Regions from separate parts of the Homo sapiens genome. Here region 2 is linked to region 1. The links are contacts of gene promoters, found by promoter capture Hi-C in human tissues and cell types (Jung and others, 2019). All regions are on one chromosome and are shown on one strand. The core of a region is centred on a gene start or on the middle of the fragment in contact, and the rest is flanking DNA. Distances in the headings are between cores, read along the strand shown.

What was found. Contacts are between HindIII fragments. The study calls those that stand out against the background at their distance.
Region 2: a contact is called between a fragment that was not itself captured here and the fragment with the promoter of NUDT1 in region 1, in 1 of the 25 tissues and cell types used here (mesenchymal stem cells).

What each region holds. Positions count from the first base shown.
Region 1 is chr7:2,239,706-2,244,576 of GRCh38, reverse strand. It overlaps NUDT1 (nudix hydrolase 1), which reads right to left and starts at 2,351. Exons shown (of 4, transcript NM_002452.4): 1 at 2,321-2,351; 2 at 1-14. The coding sequence starts at 2. MRM2 (mitochondrial rRNA methyltransferase 2) reads left to right here and starts at 2,372. Exons shown (of 3, transcript NM_013393.3): 1 at 2,372-2,415; 2 at 4,870-4,871. The coding sequence starts at 2,408. RefSeq lists a silencer at 2,446-2,665 and an enhancer at 2,988-3,839. The HindIII fragment of the contact is 10,120 bases long and covers 1-4,871 here.
Region 2 is chr7:3,482,237-3,487,107 of GRCh38, reverse strand. All of the region lies in intron 1 of SDK1 (sidekick cell adhesion molecule 1), which reads right to left. Among named protein-coding and RNA genes, the nearest start is that of SDK1-AS1, 130 kb to the right of the region's middle. The HindIII fragment of the contact is 8,636 bases long and covers 1-4,871 here.

The DNA of each region.
Region 1 (4,871 bases), core at 1,102-3,601:
ATGGTCCCTGGGTTCTGAAAGGAAGGTGAGAGGGCAGAGTCAGCCATGACGTGCGTGGAGGAAGCACGTGCCAGGGGCCAGGAGGAAGGGGACGTGCTCTGGGAGGCAGTGGGGGGCGGGGGGGTATGCTGTAACTCCCCAGCCCTGCCACGTGTGGCTTCCCTTGTGGCAGGTGGAAAACTGCCATTGAACCAGTGATTTTCTGGGGTAGAAACAGAACCCAGTGGTCAGCAGGGCTGATCAAGCAGAGCAGAGGCCGGCGCTACCTTCCTTCTCCACAAGTCAGTACTCAGGTGCAGAGGACAACATCACCTTTCCAGAGCGTGCTCTTGCTCCTGCGTCTACCCCCAGGAACCCCCTGCTTATAGGCACACAGTGAGGAACAACAGTCCCCGTGCCTGATTGGCACCAAAATAACCACGCAGTTTATCCTGTGGTCCTCAGGTCAGGCCTTTGGATTAACAGGAACTTCTTTCAGTCTAGTGGGACCTGGCCTCTCTGTAGCAGGCTTCCAGATTCCCAGGAAATGTGTGGCTGTAGACACAGGTCCACCCAGCCAGGCCCGGCTAGTCCTCCCTCCTGTGATAGGAGTTTATACCCCACCCACTCTGCTCCTGCTGTGGCTACTGTGGGACCTGGCACCCAGGGGGGCCACTGGAAGTCACAAGGGTCCTTCCTGCTCCCATAGGTGTGCAGGTCCAGGTCCAGAGGACTCTGAGGGCGATGCCTCCGCCAGGTCCCTGCTGAAAAAAGGACCCTGGAGAAATGCTGGAGGGCCAGGACCAACTTTCCTTTATTTATTTTGAGACAAGATCCTGCTCTGTTGCCCAGGCTGGAGGAGAGTGGCGTGATCGCGGTTCACTGTAACCTCCGCCTCCCTGGCTGAAGCCATCCTCCTGCCTCAGCATCCCACATAGCTGGGACCACAGGCATGAGCCGCCACACCCAGCTAATTTCTGTATTTTTAGTAGAGATGGGGTTTTGTCACGTTGCCCAGGCTGGTCACGAACTCCTGAGCTCAAGCGATCCACCCACCTCAGCCTCCCAAAGTGCTGAGATTACAGGCGTGAGCCACTGCGCCCAGCCAGGACCAACTTTTCTGGGGTCCACACCTGGACAAGACACAGGGTTCAGGACCAGTGATCCTTCTTGGAAGTTGTGGTGTCTGAGAAAAGGGACCAGATGATAAGGAAGGGGGCAGGGAAGTGCTGGGTAGAGGAGGGCGTGGTCTCTGGCCAGGGCTCCACACCCAGGCCTGTGCCCAGGGACCTGGGTGAGGACAGGCATTTCTGTTTTTTTGCCCAAATGTTGCATTTCCCGAGCCCGCCACGTCCCCGTCCTGTGCCTATAAAAAAACCCCAGTGGTTTTTTATAGTGGGCAGAGACACAAGCCGCTGGACGTCAAGAGGACGTGGAAAGCACACCAACAGGCACCAGCAGGCCATCAACTGATGGAACCATGAGTTTGGCAGGGGCGGTCAGAGGAGAGCCCAGGCTGCTCAGCAGCCCGACTCCAGGGGAAAATCACCTTCCCACTCCAACTGCCTTCTGGCTCCCCCATCTGCTGAGGGCTAATTCCACTCATAAAACCTTGCACTCACTCTCCAAGCCGCCGTGTGATCTGATTGCTCCAGTACATCAAGGCAAGAAACCTAGGGATACAGAAAGCCCTCTGTCCTTGCGATAAGGCAGGGAGTCTAACAGCTGACTAACACAAGCCACCTACAAGGCTAAACTGAAAGAGCACCCTCTAACACATGCCTGCTGGGGCTTCAGGAGCTGCAAACATTCACCCCTAGACACTGCCGTGGGGTGGGAGCCCCTCAGCCTGCCTGTCTGTATGTTCCCCTAGAGGCTTGAGAAGCGGGGCACTGAAGAAGTGAGCCACATCCTCATCGCACGCCCTTCGAGGAGGACAAGGGAACCTTTCCCATTTCACTGAGACTGGGTCCTGGTGGCGGAGGCAGGTCAGACAGGGTAAATGGGTTTGTGGCTTAGTTTCACACCAGGCCCGTGTACTTTGTCCCGACACTGATCTGTTTCTGCCAGAAGCCACGGTTTCCAAAGTAAATTTTTGTGATTTACTCCTGGTCTCCCCCAAGCCTCCGCCCCGCTCTCCTTGTCTCTCTCCCAAACCCCCGGCCCCGCTCTCCTCGTCTCCCTCGAGCCCCCGACCCTGCTCTTCTGGTCTCCTTCGAGCTCCCGGCCCCGCTCTCCCCCAAGCCCATGGCTCAGCTCCCCTAGTCTCCTGCCGCCCGCTGGCCCGGCTCCCCTCCCTGGTCACCACGACTCCTGGAATCCCCGCGCGCGCTTTTCGTACCTGCACCGCCGCTTCCGGGGGCGTGGCCTCTGACCGGAAGTGAGGCCAGGCACTTCCGGCGGCGCGCTGCAGGCGCGGGGAACACCAATGGCGGGGTGAGCTGGGCGCTGCTGCTGCGCGTGCAGACAGCGGGAGTGGTTGGGGGTCCGCCCGGTCGCCTTCCTCGGTCCTGGCCTCGGGGCTGGGTGCCGAGCGCTGGGCACCGTCCCCGCACTCAGCGAGCGCGACAGGGGCGAGGCCAGGATTCCGGGTCGCAGTTCCCCGGGAGGAGGGCGCCCTCAGGTCTCCAGGGGCAGGGCCGGCGGGGCCGTGGGGAGGCCGGGGCCGGCGGCGGAGTCCAGGTGGGGGGCGCAGCGCCGGGGCCCAGATCCAAGGCGCCGGGGGCGAGCCCGGGGCGGGATTTCGCTTCTGGGCCGGGTAGCTCCATTGCCCGCGCTTCCTGGGCTGTCGAGTGGGCCCTGGCCCCCGGGACCGGCTTGTGCCATTTTCCCGGGAGACCCCTTAAGCGAGGGGAAGACAGCGACTCACGGTCAGCAGTCAGTGCCTCCTGGCTTGTCAGCACGCTTTGGTGTTGCAGAAGCTAGAAGCTTTGGCCTTGGAGCCATGAGGGTGGTAACTTTTATTTATTTATTTAAATCAGAAAGATGGACATAGAGACCGGGCTTGGTGGCCCACACCTGTCATCCCAGCACTTTGGAAGTCTGAGGCAGGAGGATCGTTTGAGCCTAGGAGTTCGAGACCAGCCTAGGCAATGTAGTGAGATGCCATCTCTAAAAAAGGTTTTTAAGAATTAAAAAAAAAAAAAAAATTAGCCCAGGCATGGTGGTGCACACCTGTAGTCCCAGCTACTCAGGAGGCTGAGGTGGGAGGTTCACTTGAGACCCAGAGGTTATGGCAGCAATCAGCTGTGATTGTGCCACTGCAACTCCAGCCTGGATGATAGCAAAACAAAAATGGCCGGGTGAGGTGGTTCACGCCTGTAATCCCAGCACTTTGGGAGGCCAAGGTGGGCTGATCGCCAGAGGTCAGGAGTTCGAGACCAGCTCGGCCAACATGGTGAAATCCCATCTCTACTGAAAATAGAAAAATTAGCCGGAAGTGGTGGCACACACCTGTAGTCTCAGCTACTCAGGAGGCTGAGGTGGGAGGTTCACTTGAGCCCCAGAGGCTGTGGCTGCAGTCAGCTGTGATCATGCCACTGCACTCCAGCCTGGGTAATAGTAAAACCCTGTCTCTAAAAAAACAAAAAGAAGAAAGAAATGCCTGGGTGCAGTGGCTTACACCTGTAATCCCAGCACTTTGGGAGGCCAAGGCGGGCAGATCAGCGGAGGTCAGGAGTTTGAGACCAGCCTGGCCAACATGGTGGAACCCATCTATACTGAAAATACAAACATTAGCCGGACATGGTAGCAGGTGTGCCTGTAATCCCAGCTACTTGGGAGGCTGGGGCAGGAGAATTGCTTGAACCCGGGAGTCGGAGGCTGCAGTGAGCTGTCACTGCACTCCAGCCTGGGCGCCAGAGTGAGACTCCGTCTTAAAAAAAGAAAAAGAGGACATAGAACTTCCTTGGTGAGGTTGTTGTCAGAGTTAAACAAGGGGAGGTGTGTATAGCTTCCACCTGCTTAGCTATTGTGGGCTGTGAATAAATTGTTACATTTATTGTAACAATTGTCTAGAGAATCTTGGAAATTGTCCTTCAACGATTGACACAGGTTTAGTTCAATTTTATTTAAGACATGTAGGTGAGAGGATTGTTTGAGCCCAGGAGTTCGAATCTGCGTTGAACCGTGACCTCACCACTGCACTCCAGCCTGGGCTATAGAGCGAGACCCTGTCTCGAAAAAAAGAAGAAAAAAAGAAATGTGACAGGCCAGACCCTCTGTACTAGCTGTCAAAGCCCTGGAACTAGGTCACTAAGGCAAGGATCTGTCCTTATGAGGTTTTCTTGCAGCCTGTCAGAGCCCAATGAACATTTTTGCCAGATGAGAAAATAATATTACTTTAATTAATTAATTGATGTATTTAGTTATTGTTTGAGACAGAGTCTCGCTCTGTCGCCCAGGCTGGAGTGCAGTGGCGCAATCTCGGCTCACTGCAACCTCTGCCTCCTGGGTTCAGGCGATTCTCCTGCTTCAGCCTCCCGAGTAGCTGGGTTTATAGGCATCTGCCACCACGCCAGGCTAATTTTTGCATTTTAGTAGAGACGGGGTTTCATCATGTTGGCCACGGTTGGCCAGGCTGGTCTCGAAATCCTGACCTCAGGGGATCCACCTGTCTTGGCCTCCAAAAGTGCTGGAATTACAGGTGTCTCCGAATACCCCCATATTCTGAGGTACCAAGGGTTAGGACATCAACACATTAATTTTGCGGGGACACAGTTTGGCCTGTGATGCCTGCTTTCCATCTGTGTAGCCTTATCAGTTCACCTCCCCTCCTGGGCCTTGGTGCCCCATCTCTAGAAATGAATGAGTTGATCCGAGGGCCCTCCCAGCTCATGACCTGCCGTTCTGTGTGATGCCAACCTGCCTGCTCCTCTTCTCTCCCACCAGGT
Region 2 (4,871 bases), core at 1,178-3,677, 1.2 Mb before region 1:
AGAGCTGCACTTGCATTTACATATTGTGTAAGGCGACTTTCACAACACAATGGCGAGCTGAGTGGTTTTGACAGAAGCCATCCGGCCCATTACAAGAAAAAATTGCCAACCTCTGTTCCAGACCATAAAAAGATAGCTAATACAATCTTAGCAAAGCAAATATAACCTTTACACATGTAATAATAGTTTTAATATTTATATAAGATAAACTGGTAGAGAATAAGACAGTTAAGAGAGGCAGAGAGTAATGCACCCTCTTATCAAACATGTGGAATGTTCACAAAAATTATCTAAGTTTTAGGACAAAAGGATATATTTACAAATTAAAAAAATACAAGTCTTCCAAATCTTTTAAAATAAATGTAATAGGATAAAATTAAAACGTGGCTAAAAATCTACTATCTCTACATCTATCTACCTATTGAAATTTAACGCCTTACTTGTGCTTTGGGATGAAGAAAAAAAAACTGAAGAAAAATTTCCATTTTCATCATACATACATAACAAATAAAGCGCACAAAATAAAGACTGGGAAACAGCCACAGCAGGGTCAGAAAAAATCATAGCATAAAATGCATTTACCAGAAAACACAAGAGATTGAAAATAAGTAAACTTAGTTTATAACTTACAAAATTAGGGGGGTAAAAACAAAACCAAACAGGAAAGTAGAATAAATTATTAGACATAAAAAAAGAAATGAATTAGAAAACCAAACAAAAATACCAGCACATTTGAAACCCAGGTTCTTTGAAATGACCCATAAAACTGGCTAAGTTTTGCCAAGTCTAACTAAGAAAAAAGAAAGAAGATCCAAATAAAGTACAATAGAAATGGAAAAGAAAACAACCTCAGATATTAAAGATTTAAAATTTAACTCCATATAATTTTAATTAACATTAAAAGCTAAGCAAAACAGATACTAGAAGAATGTTCTAAAATTTTCATAAGAAAAAAGAAAACAAAAGACCAAATAACCATAGAAGAAATCAAAATTACAGGTAATAATTTAACTCAGGGGGGAAAAAAGCACTAAGCATAGATGATTTTAATGAAGAGTTTTTCAGATCTTCAAAAAATAGATAAAACCAATATTATATAAACTGTCCAATATTATATAAACTGTCCTAATAGTGTCCTAAAAGCACTAGGCATAGATGGTTTTAATGAAGAGTTTTTCAAATCTTCAAAAAATAGATAAAACCAATATTATATAAACTGTCCTAACGGGACAAAGAATAAGATTTTTTAAAAACCTAAGATGTTTTAGAAAGCCACCATAGTTGGATTCATAAATATAATAAGAAAACACACTTACGTGGGAATAGCACTTATGAATATAGATGGAACATTTTTAAATAAAGTTTAAAAATTACCAGAGAGAAAGGTGGAGCAAGATGGCTCAAAAAAAAAAAAAAAAAAAAAACCCTCCAAAGATCATCCCCTCAGCACAAACATCAAAATGAACAACTATCCATACAAGAAAGCATTTTCATAACAGCTAAAAATCAGATGGGAGATGACAGGACCTGGTTTTAGCTTAACAAGAAAAGATGCATTTAAAGGGGTAGGGAAGACAGTCTCACATTACCTACACCCTGGTACCTCATCCCCAGGCAGCACAGCCTGGAGGGAAAACACCTATGCTTGGGGTAGGGAAAGCAAAGTGAGTGTGGGACTTGGCATTGGAACTAGGTGTTAGCCCTGCCACGGTGGAACCCAGCACTGAACTCAAACAACTCAATCGCAAATAAGCAAATAATCTGATTTTTAAATGGGCAAAGTATCTGAAGAGACATTTCTCAAAAGAAGACCTGCAAATGGCCACCACGTCTAGGGAAAAAATGCTCAATATCACTAGTCATTAAGAAACGCAAATCAAAACCACAGTGAGATTTCATCTCACCCCAGATATGATAGCTATTATCAAAAAGACAGAAAATAACAAATGCTGGCTAGGATGCAGAGAAAAAGAATGTTCATACGGTCTTGGTGAGAATGTAAATTGGCAGAACTATTATGGAAAACAGTATGGAGGGTCCTCCAGAAATGGAAAATAGAACTGCCATATGATCTAGCAATTCCGCTGCTGGGTATATACCCAAAAGAAAGGAAATTAGTCTATCAAACAGATGACCTGCAGTCCCACGTTTACTACAGCTCCATTCACAATAGCCAAGATATGGAATCAAGCTAAATGCTCATCAACAGATGAATGAACAAACAAAATATGTTATGCTTCCACAAAGGAATACTATTCAGCCACTGAAAAAATGAAATGCTGTCATTTGCAGCAACACGTTTATAACTGGAGGACATTAAGCGAAAGTCAGGCCCAGAAAGACAAATATCCCATGTTCTCACTCCTATGTGGGAGCTAAAAAAAACCGATCTTGTGGAGGTAGTGAGTGCAACAGTGTTTCCCAGAGGCTAGGAAGGGCAGGGGAGAGGAAAGTGTGAGGCGAGGTTGGTTATGGATACAAAACCACAGTTAGAGGAAAGGAATAAGTTCTAGTGTTCAACAGCACTGGCAGGAGACCATAGTTAACTATTGTACAGTTAATCCTTGAACAACTCTGGTTTGAACTGCCAGGATCCACTTATACAAGGATATTTTTCCAACCAAACTGAAAATATAGCCGTTCCTCGGTCTACATGGGGAACTAGTTCCAGGACCCTCATGTTTACCGAAATCCTCACACACTCATGTCCCGAAGTCGGCCTTGTGGAACCTCATATTCAACAAGTCAGCCCCCATATATGTAGGTTTCGCATCCAGTGAATATGTATTTTCGATCTATGTTTGGTTGAAAAAAAATGTGTGTATACATGGACCCATGCAGTTCAAATCCTACAAAACTGTACAGTATTGGAGGGATGTGAATTCATGGATACAGAAGGTGAAATTTTGTATCCGTGGGTTTGGCAGGGCCACCTGTGGACTGGAGCATGCTTCGATTTTGGTTATACAGGGGACCCTGGAATCAACCCCTCACATATACTGAAGTAAGGCATTTCTTAAATAGCTGCAAGAGAATATTTGGAGTATCCCCAACACACAGAAATGATAAATGTTTGAGGTGACAGATATCCCAATTACCCTGATTTATTACACATCATATGCGTATATCAAAATATCACATGTACCCCATAAATATGTCCAACTATTATGTATTAGTTAAAAACTAAAAATAAATTTTAAAATGTTAGACAAGTATTATGGCCATGTAGAGCTTATCCAACGTATATATAAACATTTTAATGATAAAGAGGAGAAAAAAGAAATGTTCCAATGAATTTACTATAGTCATGTATTAAAGGAGAAACATCATGTAACTATCAGAGACTGAAATAAATATCATCTAATAGTACTGAACACCCATTCCTAACAAAAATGCTTAGCAAATTCTGATAAAAGGTATATATCAAAAATTTAGAGAAAATATTACATTTAATGGTAAAATATTAGAAGCATCCATTAAAATGAAGAAGAAAACAAGGATATCTGTTCCACTTGTTAAAATCCCGCATTGTAGTGGTGCAGGGATTGCAATAAGATAAAAATTTAGAGACAGAAATATTCACAAGGAAATGATTATCACAATTTACAAACAATATGATTATTCACCTAGAAAATCAGAGGCAATCAGAAAAAGTAAGGGATTTTGGCAAGCGCAAAACATACAAGGTGAACACAAAACTCAACAGCCTTCTTACATCTTCAATATAGCCAATTTAAGCATTTAATAGGAAAGAGCAACATAAATGGAAAAGTGGGTATAAAACTAAAAAAAGGTGGCAAGATCTTTATGAAGACAACTATAAAACTTGACTAAAGGACATAAAAGAAGCCTGAATAAACTAAAAGATATACTCTATTCAGAAATGCTAGGACTCAATACTGTAAAGATGTCAGTTTTTAACAAAGTAATCTATAAAGGTAACCCCTATCCTCATCAAAATTCAAACATGATTTTTCAGGAACTTGACAAGCCAATCCTAAAACTCACATAAAATATGTAAGAAAACTTCTAAAAAGAACAATGAAAAAATTTGAACATTTTAAAAAGTTTACAATATGACAAGTGTTAATTAAACTGGTGTGATTTTAACAAAGCAAGAGAAATCAATTAATAGGAGAGAATTAAAAAGACTTGAAATCATCATTGTTGTCACCAGCATCATCATAGCTAACGTTTACTTAGCACTTATTACGTGTCAGGCAATTTTCTAAGCTTATTACACAGATTATTTCGTAATCAAGATGTACATTTTATGTCCTGTGAGTTGCCTGAGAATCCTTTACCTGTTTTCCTGTTTTGTTGCCTTCAGTAATGCCTTGAATATTGGGTGGAAGCTGCTTTCCTCCAGAGAGGAGTTGTATTTGTTTTTGCCAGTTGCCTGGGTACACAACTACTTGAAGACCACGTTGAATTGTTTGCTGGAGGTTGTTTTGGACCTCCCCAGTAGGATAGCAGGAATGTGCAGGGAAGACCTGTGGGAGGCCCTCTGGTGGTCATCAATTCTCAGAGAAGCGCTTTCCTTGCTACTCCAGTGAGTTAAGGCTTGTTTCCTTCTCTCTTCTGCGCAGAGATTTCTTTCTCATTCACCTTTTACATTACGGACTTTAGGGTTCCAGATTTATTCAGCAATAAATCTTGGAGCTTCCCACTTTGTAGAAACCATGGGCTTTATTGCCTATCTCCGGAGTCCCATGCAGCCATCAAAGCAGACACTCCCGGCCCTTGAGTTCAGAAAGACGGTGAAGGCAGTCTAAGAGCTCGCTGCCCTCCCTAGAGTCTGGCTTGCCCTTTTTCACCCTGCCAATTCCGTCTTCTCTTGCCTGGTCAGAAATACATTTTCAATAGTTTTT